4 separate regions of the Homo sapiens genome follow, and all the other regions are linked to region 1. The links are contacts of gene promoters, found by promoter capture Hi-C in human tissues and cell types (Jung and others, 2019). All regions are on one chromosome and are shown on one strand. Each heading gives the region's core, a stretch centred on a gene start or on the middle of the fragment in contact. The rest is flanking DNA. Distances are from core to core; before and after follow the strand shown. Region 1 holds the start of ELAVL1 (ELAV like RNA binding protein 1). Region 2 overlaps HNRNPM (heterogeneous nuclear ribonucleoprotein M). Region 3 holds the start of RAB11B (RAB11B, member RAS oncogene family). Region 4 holds the start of CD320 (CD320 molecule).

Region 1 (3,488 bases), core at 391-2,890:
CCCTGGCGCAGCCACTTTAGTGCATGAGACTGGTCACATCAAGTGACCCATCTAAGCCTCAGTTTCTTCATCTCTAAAATGGAAATTAATGGAAATTATAACATCACCTGCCTCAAGGACTGCAGACAAACGTCCACAAAGTGTCAAGCACATAGTAAATCCTCAATAAATACTGGTGGCTATGTACAACATCATTTATTCAGTGCCTACCAGGCACAGACCACGCACAACGCAACGGGATTTCCACCCTCTTCAATTTGCACCACACTTTTGTCCTTCCCATTTTATAGATAAGAAAACTAAGGCTCAACAGAGTCAAGCTTGTTCGAGGTCTTGGGAGCATCTCCCAGGGCATTAGAACTTTTGGAGGAAGAGCATTTAGTTCAGTAATGGTTCTCACCTGTGCGTGTGAGAGTGGAAGAGACCCCTCCCCCGCAACCCGAGCCATCTGGCAATGTTTGGAGATACTTTTGATCCTCACGACTTGGAGCATGGGGATACTGCTGGCATCTAGTGGGTAGAGGCCAGGAATACGGCTCAACTTCCTACATTGCACAGGGAAGCCCCCACTACCACCACAACCAAAAACTATCTGACCCCAAACATCAGTAGGGCCAACGTCGAGAAACCCTGCTCTAGACAGATCATTCTCCTCATCTTCCCATTTCTGGCCATCCGGATCTTAGATGAACACTTTCTAGCAAGGGGGCTCAGTCCCACCACGGGAAGCCCATGCAGAAGTTGTGCAGAAGTTCTTCTCCACCTGCCCTGCACACAGTAGGGACCAAAACCCATTTTAACAAGCCCCGCAGCCCAGAGCACCGGAAAAGGAAGGAAGGGCATCCATCCCCCATTGTTCAACTGTGTGCAGCTTGTGTTTCCAACAGGCACACACACATATTTTACAAATCCTAACGTCCCACGCCCCACAAACAGCTTTGTTAGAGATGGCGCTCAAAAAAAGATGCAGTTTAGATTTTTTTTTTCCCCCAGGACTCCCGTGTATCTACTGAAGGGTTTGCACACTTCTCAAAGGACCTCGCACCGGCCGCGGTGCTCTGACAACGACCACAAAAGAATCTGTGGGATTTCCCGGGGGAGCAAGCCCGTGGGCCGTGACCTCTGCGCGCTCAAAGCGTTCCCGGCGCTCCCCCGTAGCTGGCCCCACTCTCCCGCCCCCGGAGCCCGGGCTTCCAAGGCGACCGGGGCCCCCGGCCGTGCAGCCCGGCCCCCCGGCGCATGCCCACGCCGTATCCCCCTCGCCCGTCCCTCGAGGCGCCAGAGGAATCCGGCCCCGGGGCCTGTAGCCGGCGCCCACACCGGCCCGCCCCGACCCGCCCGCCGCGGCCCCAGCGCGCGTCCCCTCCCCCGGTCCGGCGCGGCCTGGGCCTCGGCCGGTGCAGGCCCGCGGGCGCCCCGCGGCCAGGCCAGGCGAGCTCAGGCCTGCCGCGGCCTACCCCGTCGGGCGCCGCCGAAGGCCCCCCACCGCCTCACCTGGATGCGGGCGGGCGGGCCCGGGGCTGCTCCGGGGCGGGCGGGAGGCGGCGGCGGCGCGGCGCTAACGGCTCCGCTCGGCCTCGGTAGCGGTGGCGGCGGTGGCGGCGACGGCGACGGCGGCAGCGGCTCCTCCTCAGCGCGCACGACCCGCTCCGGCCCGCGGCCCGGACACGCCCCCCCCGCGCGCGAGCCCATTGGCCGACGTCCGCCACGGCGCGCTGCTCATTGGCCGGCGTAGCTGTCGCGGCGCTCCGGGGCGCGCGGGAGAGGCGGGACTTCCGGTCGGCGCCGCCTGCGAAGTGCTCCGCGGCCGGCGGAGACGCGGGCAGCCAGCGATGGCCGCGGAGGGGGCGAACTGGGTTCCGGCCCTCGGAGGCTGACGGAAGGCGGTGGCTGAGGAGCGGCGCCTCTGGTTGAGCGCTCGCCGTGTGTCCCGCACCTGTCTGTCCTGCCGCCGCCCGGTAAGGTAGGAAAGGTCAGCGCGCCGGGGTTACGGGTACAGAACCTGGGTTCGAATCCCGGCCCCGACGTTTCCGCACTACGTGCCGTTGGGCAGGAGCTGACGTCACCTTGCCGGGCCTCAGTTTCCTTCTCTGGTGCGCTGAGGAGGCGGGGCATGGAACGTGGTCAGCGCTTCATCGGTGCTGGCTCTTTGAGCAAGCCAGTTCCCGAAGGCTCAGCATCTCATTCATTCATTAAAATGTCATTGAGCGCCTACTGTGTGTCAATCACTGTATGGGCAGTGAGCAGAAAAAAAATACCTGGTCTTATTGGGCTAACATTCTAAACCAGCGCTGGCCTAGAATGCCCTAGTAGAAATACATGCAAGCTACATGTTTAATTTTTTTTTATGTAAAGATGGGCTCTGGTTCTGTTGCCCAGGCTGGTCTCGAACTCCTGGACTCAAGCGATTCTCCTGCCTCCGCCTCCCAAAGAGCTGGGATTACAGGCATGCCTGCACTCTGCCTAATTTTTTCTTTTTTTTTTTTATGATCTGAAAATAATAGTCTTTTTATTTTTATTTATTTATTTATTTATTTGAGACGGAGACTCGCTCTGTCGCCAGGCTGGAGTGCAGTGGCGTGATCTCCGCTCACTGCAACCTCCGCTTCCCAGGTTCAAGCGATTCTCCTGCCTCAGCCTCCTAAGTAGTTGGGCCTACAGGCGCTGCGCCACCACAACCAGCTAATTTTTGTATTTTTAGTAGAGACGGGGTTTCACCGTGTTGGCCATGATGATCTGTATCTCTTGACCTCGTGATCTGCCCGCCTCAGCCTCCCAAAGTGCTGGGATTACAGGCTTGAGCCACTGCGCCTGGCCTACAATTTTGTTTTTCTTTTTTTTTTTTTTTTTTTGAGACAGGATCTCACTCTGTCACCCAATTTGGAGTGCGGTGGTATGATCACAGCTAACTGCAGCCTCAACTTCCCCAGCTCAGGCAATCAATCCTCCGGCTTCAGATTCCTGAGTAGCTTAGACTACAGGATGTGCCACTATGCCTGGCTAATGTTTTATTTTTTTGTAGCGATGAGGTCTTGCTGTATTGCCTAGGCTGGTCTCAAACTTCTAGACTTAAGTGATCCTCCTGCTTTGGCCTCCCAAAGTGTTGGGATTACAGGCGGGAGCCACGGTGCCCAGCCTGTTTCTTTTTTTAATCATATTTTCTTAGAAGTTTTTTTTTTTTTTTTTTTTTTTTTTGGAGACAGGGTCTCACTCTGCTGTGCAGGCTGGAATGCAGTGGTGTGATCTCAGCTCACTGCAACCTCTGCCTCCCTATTCAAGTGATTCTCGTGCCTCAGCCTCCCAAGTAGCTGGGATCACAGGCGTGCAACATCACACCCAGCTAATTCTTGTGGTTTTAGTAGAGATGGGGTTTTGCCATGTTGGCCAGGCTGGTCTCAAACTCCTGGCCTCAAGTGATCCACCCACCTCGGCCTCCCAAAGTGCTGGGATTACAGGCATGAGCCACCACCCGGCCTAGGAAAGCTTTT
Region 2 (3,488 bases), core at 639-3,138, 470 kb after region 1:
AGGCTAGTTGATGGGCTACCACATAGGTAGAAGTGGCAAATATTAGTGCAGAGTCATAGATAAGCCAGAGGCTGGAAGCAAGAACCTCAGTGCATACAGCGGTGGGACGACTCAGGGAATCACTGGCGCAGGTAAAGCTCTCCTGGAGAAGAAAGATGGATGAGGGTGAGAGGCCTGTGTGTGCTGTGCTGGGGTGACCTCCACCAGGCGGGTTGAGGGGGCCTGGTCTGGAGCAGCAGCTCAAGCTCAGGGCCCTACTCACTGAGTTGGATGGGAGCCCAGGCCAGAGCACCTTTGCAGCGTAGCATTATGGCAGCATGACAGATGTATCTTGAAGGGAAATCTGTGGCTTCATGAGAAGGCTCATCTGTTGAAAGGCAACATTAGTTAGAGAAGGATTGCATTTCCTGGACATAACATACTCATTTCCCAAATAAATTGTCAGTGTGCTCACCTGAGCAGTGGTCACCCTGGACCATGGCGATGGCTCTTGTTGACTCTTGTGCTGGAGCAGGAGGAGGAGCACACTGCTCCAGGGAGCCTGTTATCCATGGCTCTTGGTCTCCCGGCCATTTCGGAGGCTTGACTTCAAAGCCTTCAGTGCTTTGGGAGAGTAAGTCACCGTGGCGATCTCTTGCTGCTGTTGCTATGCAATTAAAGATGGAATGTTCATCAGATGAAACGCCTGGGAAGTGGTGGCAGGTTTTATTTACTTTTTAAATGAACTTTGTTTGCTTTCTTTCCTTCCTTTCTTCCTTTTTCTTTCTTTTTGATGGAGTCTCGCTCTGTCGCCCAGGCTGGAGTGCAGTGGTGCGGTCTTGGCTTGCTGCAACCTCCATTTCCTGGGTTCTAGTGATTCTCCTGTCAGCCTTCCAAGTAGCAGCGATTACAGGCATGTGCCACCATGCCAGGCTAATTTTTTTTTTTTTTTAGTAGAGATGGGGTTTTGCCATGTTGGCCAGGATGGTCTCGAACTCCTGACCTCACGTGATCCACCCGCCTTGGCCTCCCAAAGTGCTGGGATTTCAGGCGTGAGCCACTGCGCCTGCCCTTGTTACGATTTTTAAAAGCTTACCTGGTTGTAGTTTAAGCCTCAGATGGTGGTTACCCCAGATATTGCAAGTGTCAGCTCTTTTGGCTGTTTCCAGAGACCAGCCTGTATTTCTGTGTCCCTGTCTGTGTTGGTAGGGCATGGAGTTGAGTGTGGGCTGGGTATCCAGTTGTGGGTTGGGAAGCTTTGGGGGAAGGAAGATAGGTTCTTTGAATACATACATTAGCTTCATTGTTACTAAAACCACCCAGATTCAGAGAGTAGTGGACACCCAGGATGTTGATTGGCTGGTTTGTAACGTGTTTTTTCATGAGAAACATCCTTTGGGCTACTAGGGATTGGGCACATTTGTGCTGCTTGCCACCTGATGTCTTGAGTCACCTTTTTTGATCAGACAGTTCTCAGTCCATGGGTTAGTGAAACAAATAGGCTCTCAAGAATCTTAGTGTGGGGGTTGTTAACTTTCCCGTGTTGGTTTTCAGCCGCCTTTGTTGTATACACACATATCCCAAACGCCGGAACAAGGCTCTGTTTCCAAGTGTGCCGATGTTGAATTTTGCATTGGGCCCTGAGGTCACTGGTGGGTGGGGGTGGGTAGGCTGAAGTGGATAGCTGCAACTCACTAAACACTCTTTTCCTTTGAGGGTCAAGGTTTGCTAAATAGGGGAAAACTAAGCTTCTTTCTCTTTTCTTTCCAGATGGCCTTGGTGGTATTGGCATGGGGTTAGGACCAGGAGGGCAACCCATTGATGCCAATCACCTGAATAAAGGCATCGGAATGGGAAACATAGGTCCCGCAGGTGAGAATGACAGTGCACCTTGCTTGGTGGTTTGGGGAAGTGAAAATTATTAATTATTGGGACAACTGGACTTTGAGTAGTTTAAATGGAATAAATATTTAACTGGGACAAAATTCCCTCCTTATTCATCTCTGCCTCATTTTGAATAAAGGCAGTATTTTGTATTTTTATCAAGTTGAGTCATTTTTTAAAAAGTCATTATGCTTTTTCATTGTAACCTGACAACAACCTTCTAAGCTGAAATAGTTGTGCCATTTGATAAGAGGAGGCAAGCCAGAGAGTTGATCTTGCTCAAGGTCACACTGTCAGTTACTGACAGGCTGCAGGTCTCCTGACCACGGGACCATAGCACTGCCGCAGTGCCCTGAAAAGTGTCTTACCAAGACCCCTTTGGGCCCTCCTGGTGTTTGCACAGCTGCTGCTAGAGAGCTAGGGGCATTGATAGATGCAAAAAAGGTGGAGAGGCCAGGCACGGTGGCTCACGCCTGTAATCCCAGCACTTTGGGAGGCCGAGGTGGGCGGATCACAAGGTCAGGAGTTTGAGACCATCCTGGCCAACATGGTGAAACCCCATCTCTACTAAAAATAAAACAATTAGCCGGGCGTGGTGGCGCACGCCTGTAATCCCAGTTACTCAAGAGGCTGAGGCAGGAGAATTGCTTGAACCCGGGAGGCGGAGGTTGCAGTGAGCTGAGATCACATGACTGCACTTCAGCCTGGCAACAGAGCGAGAGTCCGTCTCCAGAAAAAAAAAAAAAAAAAAAACCTGCATGAAAGCTTTGATGTGTAGAATAAACTCAGGCTTTGCTGTTTAGCATTTTCATTGCTGTGTAATGATGTATTTTGATTCTATTAAGGAATATGTCATTTTTATGACCTTAGACTTTGGTCTTTGTTGGAATCCTTTGAAATTGGAATATGGAAGCCCCTCTATCCCACCATTGTCAGTGTTGCATATCCCTAGACTCTCTTCCAGAGTCACCCTGGGGCTGACTTAAATTCTGGGCCACAACTTCAAATGGCTGTTAACGTTTCCCCCGACCCAAAACACACACACCCCATGTCTGACATCTAAACAGAAAGACTGGGGGTTGGGGAGGAAGTCTTGGTGTTTTTAGGAACTGGTTTTTATTTTGAAGATTTTACCTTTAACAGGGATTGATTTATTGAGACGGAATTTTGCTCTTGTTGCCCAGGCTGGAGTGCAGTGGCTCAATCTCAGCTTACCGCACTCAATCTCTGCCTCCTGGGTTCAAGTGATTCTCCTGCCTCAGCCTCCCAAGTAGCTGGGATTACAGGCATGTGCCACCACACCCAGCTAATTTTTTGTATTTAGTAGAGACAGGGTTTCACCATGTTGGTCAGGCCGGGCTGGAACTCCTGACCTCAGGTGATCCACCCGCCTCGGCTTCCTGAAGTGCTGGGATTACAGGCGTGAGTCACCACGCCCACCCTTAACAGGGATTCTTAAAAAAAATCTACTTCTGTTCCCTAAAATTTTCTAAAAAGTTTATGTTCCATAGAATGTGTCTTATAATTCTATTTCATGTTTAATACTGCCTAACTTGAGGCCTGGTGTGGTGGCTTATGCCTGTAATCCCAGCAATTTGGAGGCCGAGGGTTTGAGACTAGTCTAG
Region 3 (3,488 bases), core at 433-2,932, 380 kb after region 1:
GTTGCCTAGGCTGGTCTCTAGCTCCTGGCCTCAAGTGATCCTCCCACCTCAGCCTCCTCAAAGGGCATGTTTTTAGGCATAAGCCACCGCAGCCAGCCAAAACAAACAAACAAAAAGTAACGTATACTTTGTGTTAATAATTTTGCATAGTATATTGAAAATTTGCCAAGAAAGTACATTTTAGATACTCTCACTACACACACAGTTAATTATGGAAGGCAATGGATAGGTTAATTGCTTAACTCTCATAATTGGCCATGTGTGGTGAAAATGCCTGTAATCCCAGCACTTTGGGAGGCCAAGGTGGGCGAATCACCTGAGGTCAGGAGTTCGAGATCAGCCTGACCAACATGGAGAAACCCCGTCTCTACTAAAAATACAAAAAAATTAGCCAAGCATGGTGGTGCATGCCTGTAATCCCAGCTATTCGGGAGGCTGAGGCATGAGAATCGCTTGAACCCGGGAGGCAGAGGCTGCAGTGAGCCGAGAGCACACCATTGCACTTCAGCCTGGGCAACGACAGCAAAACTCCGTCTCAAAAAAAAAAAAAAAAACTGTCATAATTATTATTTCACTGGGTACATGTGTATCAAAACACACGCTGTACACCCTAAATATATAAAACAAACACATACTGTATTGTCAGGTAGTGATAAATCCTATCACTACCTGACAATACAGCAGTATGTGTTTTATTTTCTATATTACCTATTTTTATATTTTACCTATGTGGCAAAATATAGGACAAAAGAGGGGTAGTGGTAGGAGGTCCTGTTGGAGAGCATTGGTATCCAGTAAGGATTTAAAAGTATTTATTTAACAAAGAATAGCAGAAAGTGGACGGTTGATTCACACTTGGTGCAATCTCGGCTCACTGCAACCTCCACCTCCCAGGTTCAAGCGATTCTCCTGCCTCAACCTCCTGAGTAGCTGGGTTTACAGGCACCAGCGACCACGCCCGACTAATTTTTGTATTTTTAGTAGAAACGGGGTTTCACCATGTTGGTCAGGCTGGTCTCGAACTCCTGACCTCGTGATCCGCCAGCCTCGGCCTCCCAAAGTCCTGGAATTACAGGCGTGAGCCACCGCGCCTGGCTGATCTGGTTATTTTCAAAAGATTCCATGAGACGGGTTTCTTCAGTTTACAGAGGAGGAAACTGAGGCACAGAAGGATAACCCAGTGAGTCCCAATATAGAGATGGAGACTGCAACCGAGAAAGGGGACCCAGCGCTGAGGTCCCCGGAAATGGTCATTTATGGGCTTGGGGGGCGACCAGGGCAGCGCGCGCTGACCTATGACGTCATCGGGACGTTAAGCATCGTAGCATTACCTGGACGTAGCCCCATTTCTCTTCCCGGACAGGTCCTCTGATAGTCGGGTAGGTTCTCAATCAAGCCTCTCATTAGTTATTTGGTCTGTCAATCCATTTCATTCCTGCAGTCTTCCGCCCCGCCCTCTTGAGCTCGCCCCTGATAGGCTGGCGCGTCCGTCACTTCAAAAAGGTCCGCATTCCTTCCGCCTTTCTCCAGGACACCGAGGGCGAGGAGGGTGGTACCAAGCGGCGCCCACCCTCAGAGCACTACTTCCATCTCTGATTGGCTTCGCTGGGTGCCCGTCGCTACTCCACTCGCCGCTGATAGGCCATTCAACCGCCGCTCTGCGCGGCGCCGGCTCCGCCCCCGTCGGGTGTTTGTGGTGGGGCTGCGGAGTCGCCGATCCCGCCGGAAGCGCCAGGACAATGGGGACCCGGGACGACGAGTACGACTACCTATTCAAAGGTGCGGCCGGTGGGGCACAGACGGGCGAAGTCGTGGCGGCGAGGCGGCGGGCAGACGGGCCAAGGCCGCGCTCCAGGCCGCTGGGCCCAGGCCGGAGCCCGGGGCTTGGGGCCCGGCGGGTCAGGCAGCCGGGAAGGCCGGAGCCGACCGGGCAGCATCAGCTTCGGGCTAGGATGCGCGGCTATACGGAGCCGGAGGCCCGGAGAGACCTGGGGGACCTAGGACGCGCCGGGGCGGGGCCAGAGCCTAGAGGGGGTGGGGCCCGGAGCGGTGGGAGAGGCTGTTAGGGCGGGGCCTCCGCAGGGGGTGGAGCTTTCCCAAGATTTGGCGGGCCGGGCTGGGCTGAAAGCGTGATTCGGGATGGGGGCGGGGTTTTTAGGGGCGGGGCTAAGGCGTGATGGGCGTGACCAATAGGTGGGTTGGGCCTGGGCAAACGGAGGCGGGGCTCTCACGAGGCTTGTCCTGATTGGGGCAGCGTGTTTGGGGGTGGGGCCCGGGAGAGGCGGGGCAGGCAATGGGGGCTGGGCCGAGATGAGGGCCTGGGGGTGAGGTGTGTGGTGGTGGGAGCCTTGGATTGGGGTGCAAAGCTGGGATTGAGTGGAAAGGCACCCGTGTGTGCAGCAAGAATTCCATCTCTTCACTCAGAACTCTCAACAGTGCTAAGCCAGTACTTGCACTTTTCTGAGCACTTTACCCGAATTAACTAAAATCCTCACTGCAGCCCTTTGAGGTTGATACTAACCAGCCTCTCTTTTTACACGTTGGGAAACTGAGGCCCAGAGTGACAAAGACACAGTTTATAAGTGTTGGAACCCGATTGAGCCCAGGCCACCTGTAGGCCTTACCACTTAGGAAGCGTGTCTTAGGGGGCTTGTGGCCAGCATCTGGGACTTTGGGTTGTTGGACCAACTTCTTCCAACACGTGCGCACTGATGGCCGGGGCCCCAGCCAGCCTGCTGGAGGGTCTTCCCCGCCCGAGGGACTGAGGGGGCTCTAGGAGCATCACATAAGGCCTAGGTAGATCAGGCAGCCATTGCCCATTTAGGGACAGCTGGAGGAAGCCGGAGTCCCTTGTTTCTCAGCTGAGCCTTCTGTGCCCAGCTACACTTTGGCCTAGTGGTCTGCCCTGGTTGCTGGGCTCCCTGGCTGACAATGGCAGCCCTTGAGGGCTAACCCCTGGATCCAAGGTGCCTTCACCCTGCGGCCTGCTCTATGAGGGCCTGCGTCGCACATCAGCTGTTGGTATCCTCACCTCGCTGAGCCGTTCCTCCGAGTGTGCTCTGTGGCTTGCACCAGGCCTAGCTGGGCCTTGTGTCTGGTCTCATCCAGCGTCTTCTGATTGTGGGGAATGAGGCAGAGGTCTCCCCACCTGGGCTGTCCGTGTGGCGAAAGCCTTCCGGGGGGAGGGAGAGGAAGTGCCTCTACAAGGGCCTAGAGTCGTCCTGTGGCACTGAGGGCTCTGGCAGCTGCACACAGGTTGATAATGTCACTGGTGGGTGAGGCTCTGTGGTCAGCAGGTGCCCGGCCCAAGGTCTCGCCCCTCGTGGCAGGAGGAAGCTTTGGAAGGGTTTTGGAGACTGGGATTCTAAGGGGCCGTCTGGAGACAGGGGGACTAAACTTTGGGTCCTGCTGATCGGGTGCCATCTCCACTCAGCCCACCGTGAGGCAGCTGCTCCCAGGTCCTGGCTGGGCACCCACCCAGACGTGGC
Region 4 (3,488 bases), core at 1-2,500, 300 kb after region 1:
ATGGTGAAACCCCATCTCTACTAAAAATACAAAAATTAGCCGGGCATGGTGACGGTGCCTGTAGTCCCAAGCTACTCGGGAGGCTGAGGCATGAGAATTGCTTAAACCCGGGAGGCGGAGGGTGCAGTGAGCCAACATTGCACTGCACTCCAGCCAGGGCGACAGAGGGAGACTCAAAAAAAAAAAAACAAAAACTTTTGTACTTGGTTAACGTGAACGCTGCCTCCTTAAAAAAAAACAAACAAAAAAAAACCCAGGAACATTTAACGTGAATGTCAGGGACTTTGGGATGAGTCCAGGGACCTAGAAGTGCGGAATGCACAAAGGAGCTGGGAAAGTGTGTGAGCCTGAGCCCAGGGCTGCAAGTTGGGAGTGCCTGAGTGCACAGGGAGGCCACTCCAACCCTCCAGCTGCCTCTAGGGGTATCAGAGAGGGAGCCCGTCCCCACTGGCCACCAATACCTCTTAGGCCAGGGCGAACACGTCCACGGGGGTATATTCAACTTGTGACCCCAGTCTCTGCGAGAGCCTGCAGTAGCATGGGGGGGAGAGACCTCGCGTTCTCTAAGGATGGAGGACAAAGGAGGAGAGACTGGGAGGGCAGGGACGGTTGCGGAACGGTCACAAGGCCTGGGCGCGAGGGTTTGGAAGGCAAAGGTGCGAGAGGCACCAGGTGACCCGTCCTGCGTGATTAGCGGTCGGACAATCTGAGCCTGCTAAGAGCTTTCCTGACCACGCTGGTATGAAGGGCGGCTTGGAGGTGACAATGGGGGACGACAGGGCACAGCAGGTGTGGAGACGGTGTGCAGGGCCGGAGCAAAACCGTTAAAGGCAGGTGGAGACACCCTCCTCCCCTCCCCCAGCATGGGGTCTTCCTAGCACCAGTGCGCGCCTTCCCACAAGCGATGAAGTCCAAGTCCACGTGCTGGGGGAGTGTCATGAACTGACGTGCGGTGCAGCCAGTGACTAGGCGTTGTCGGTGCGCGGCGGCGGGGCGAAGCCTCGCGAGGGGTGGGAGCCCGCGCTGCGGGGCGTCACTCACCTGCGGCCTGGGCAGAGGTCGGGGTGGAAAGCGGGCTCGCGGCGGCCTCCAGGCCTAGTCCGAGGCCGAGCAGCAGCAGCAGCGCCAGGCCCAGAGCCCCTGTTCGCCACGCTCCAACCTGCGCCATCCAACCGCCGCTCATGCTGTCCCCACAGCGGCGCCGGCCACGCGCTGTCCAGACCGCTCTCTTATCCCTGCGCACGCGCACGCGCGGGGTTGGGGCGGGGCCCAAGCCCCTGAGTTCTGCGGCGCCCGCGGCTACGCGTACCGTAAATGTCAGAATAGCAGGGAAAAGAGAATTAGAGGCCCGTCCCCACTTTCCCCAGTGACCAGATCAGTTGAAAGGTATGGAGCCCGCTTGAAGTTAGAAACTTCTGGGGATGGGAAGGAATTTGTTGGTGTTCATTTGCATTATTTCCCGTTCCAAATGAGGACTGCTGCAAATGTTACTGCCTCGTGATCTTCTTTAATATGGCAGCCACGCCCCTCAGGCACTCCGCATTTCCTCCCTCATCCCACTGCTTTTGTGGCGCCGACAGGTAATTTATTTTATTTACTTATTCTGGTTTGTTGTCCGAGTCCCCATAGAATGCTAGCTACTGGAGGGCAGGGATCTTCTGTTGCTCACTGCTTTATTCTCAGGATCTGACACATAGTGCTTGACTCATAGTAGGCTCTTAGTAAACATTTGGTGAGTAAATGAATAAATGAAACGTCCATTCTCGGAGTCGGGTTGCTTGGGGGGGAAAAAGGAAAGGAAATCAATTAATTAATTAAATTTAATAATAAAGGCCGGGCGCGGTGGGTCACGTGTGTGATCCCAGCATTTTGGGAAGCAGAGGCGGGCAGATCGCTTGAGCCCAGGAGTTCGAGATCAGCCTGGGCAACACAGCAAGTCCCCGCCCGCCTCAAGAAAAAAGAAAATTAGCTGGGCATGGTGGCTCTAATTTGTAGTCCCAGCTACTCAGGAGGCTGAGGTGGGAGAATCACTTGGGGCTGCACTCCAGCGTGGGTGACAGTGAGACCCCATTTGTTAGAAAAGTTGGCCGGCGCGCTGGCTCACGCCTGTTAACCCCAGCACTTTGGGAGGCCGAGGCAGGCGGATCACGAGGTCAGGAGTTCTAAACCAGCCTGGCCAACATAGTAAAACTCCCGTCTCTACCAAAAATACAAAAATTAGCCGGGTGTGGTAACATGCTCCTGTAGTCCCAGCTACTAGGGAGGCTGAGATGGGAGAATCGCTTGAACCCGGGAGGCGGAGGTTGCAGTGCGCCGAGACCACATCATTGAACTCCAGCCTGGGTGACAGAGTGAGACTCTGTCTCAAAAAAAAAAAAAAGTTGTGGTCATAAAACTTGGTTCAGATGCCGTCAGCGGCATGCCTTGCCTAGGGTCTTGCCCTCCTTGTGGCCTCTGCACACCCTGCCTAGTCTTTCCTTCCCTCCTGACCTTTCTGAATCTGATTCATCCTTTTGCCCCAAGCAGAATCCCACCTTCTCCAGGAAGGTGTTAGCCTTTGTAGGACCCACTCTGGGACACTGGTACCTGCTGCCTGTAGCCGTGGCCTTTCCCCTTCCAGAGGGCAGGGCGGTCTCAGCACCCTCTTGGTCCACAGCTGATCTTTTTTAGCTGCTGAAGGGTCTGGGGCTGTGCCCTGGGGAAGCCATGACACTCCCCTGCGTAGGGTCACTGGGTGGCTCCTGCAGCCAGACTTGGACACCCTCCCTTTGCAGATTTCTGTCTCCTCCCCAGGAACCAGCTGCCTTCCTTCTGGGGCGAATTCATTCTTATCCCACAGCCCCAGCATAATGGGATCTGGCTCAGGGAGGCCTTTCCTGATCTGCCCTAGGTTTGCCTTCCCTGTGAGCAGCCCTTACTGTCCTCTGCCTTCCCCGTTGAGCTGCAGGGTGACCATGGTCAAGCAGGAGCCTCAGTGGGAAGGTGCTGAGGAAGGTTCATGTGAGAAGTGGCTGTGGGAGCCCTCAAGAGATGGAAGTTAGGCCAGGCGCGGTGGCTCACGCCTGTAATCCCAACACTTCGGGAGGCAGAGGTGGGCGGATCACTTGAGGTCAGGAGTTTGAGACCAGCCTGGCCAACATGGCGAAACCCCGTCTCTACTAAAAATACAAAAATTAGCTGGGCTTGTGGCAGGCGCCTGTAATCCCAGCTACTCGGGAGGCTGAGGCAAGAGAATCACTTGAACCCAGGAGGCAGAGGTTATAGTGAGCCGTGATCGCGCCATTGTACTCTAGCCTGGGCAACAAGAGCGAAACTCTGTCTCAAAAAAAAAAAAGAAGTGAGAAGTCTGTGGCTGGCCTACTGAGTGTCCGCACATACACCCCTTACCCCACCTGACTGGTCTTCACAATCAATGCTCCCCAACAGCCAGCGGTCCTGGGAGTCCAACCTCCCAGAAGGATCACCCACTCCCACCACTCTCAAGGTCA

Evidence for each region. Contacts are between HindIII fragments. The study calls those that stand out against the background at their distance.
Region 2: a contact is called between a fragment that was not itself captured here and the fragment with the promoter of ELAVL1 in region 1, in 4 of the 25 tissues and cell types used here (IMR-90 fibroblasts, adrenal gland, liver and 1 more).
Region 3: the fragment with the promoter of RAB11B here is called in contact with the fragment with the promoter of ELAVL1 in region 1 in 1 of the 25 tissues and cell types used here (spleen).
Region 4: the fragment with the promoter of CD320 here is called in contact with the fragment with the promoter of ELAVL1 in region 1 in 1 of the 25 tissues and cell types used here (dorsolateral prefrontal cortex).

Annotation. Positions count from the first base shown.
Region 1 is chr19:8,004,001-8,007,488 of GRCh38, forward strand. It overlaps ELAVL1 (ELAV like RNA binding protein 1), which reads right to left and starts at 1,641. Exons shown (of 6, transcript NM_001419.3): 1 at 1,495-1,641. It overlaps LOC105372266 (a long non-coding RNA gene), which reads left to right and starts at 1,813. Exons shown (of 4, transcript XR_936302.2): 1 at 1,813-1,958. RefSeq lists silencers at 1,017-1,066, 1,097-1,296, 1,527-2,016. The HindIII fragment of the contact is 8,326 bases long and covers 1-3,488 here.
Region 2 is chr19:8,469,577-8,473,064 of GRCh38, forward strand. It overlaps HNRNPM (heterogeneous nuclear ribonucleoprotein M), which reads left to right. Exons shown (of 16, transcript NM_005968.5): 10 at 1,750-1,851. Among named protein-coding and RNA genes, the nearest start is that of HNRNPM, 26 kb to the left of the region's middle. The HindIII fragment of the contact is 4,970 bases long and covers 1-3,488 here.
Region 3 is chr19:8,388,678-8,392,165 of GRCh38, forward strand. It overlaps RAB11B (RAB11B, member RAS oncogene family), which reads left to right and starts at 1,683. Exons shown (of 5, transcript NM_004218.4): 1 at 1,683-1,779. The coding sequence starts at 1,740. RAB11B-AS1 (RAB11B antisense RNA 1) reads right to left here and starts at 2,014. Exons shown (of 3, transcript NR_038237.1): 1 at 1,332-2,014. MIR4999 (microRNA 4999) reads right to left here and starts at 703; the gene lies at 613-703. RefSeq lists silencers at 1,315-1,596, 1,816-2,075 and an enhancer at 1,346-1,545. The HindIII fragment of the contact is 12,481 bases long and covers 1-3,488 here.
Region 4 is chr19:8,307,108-8,310,595 of GRCh38, forward strand. It overlaps CD320 (CD320 molecule), which reads right to left and starts at 1,251. Exons shown (of 5, transcript NM_016579.4): 1 at 1,042-1,251. The coding sequence starts at 1,183. It also overlaps a transcript of NDUFA7 not described here. RefSeq lists enhancers at 14-754, 741-870, 755-1,494, 1,550-2,079 and silencers at 951-1,040, 1,015-1,353. The HindIII fragment of the contact is 38,311 bases long and covers 1-3,488 here.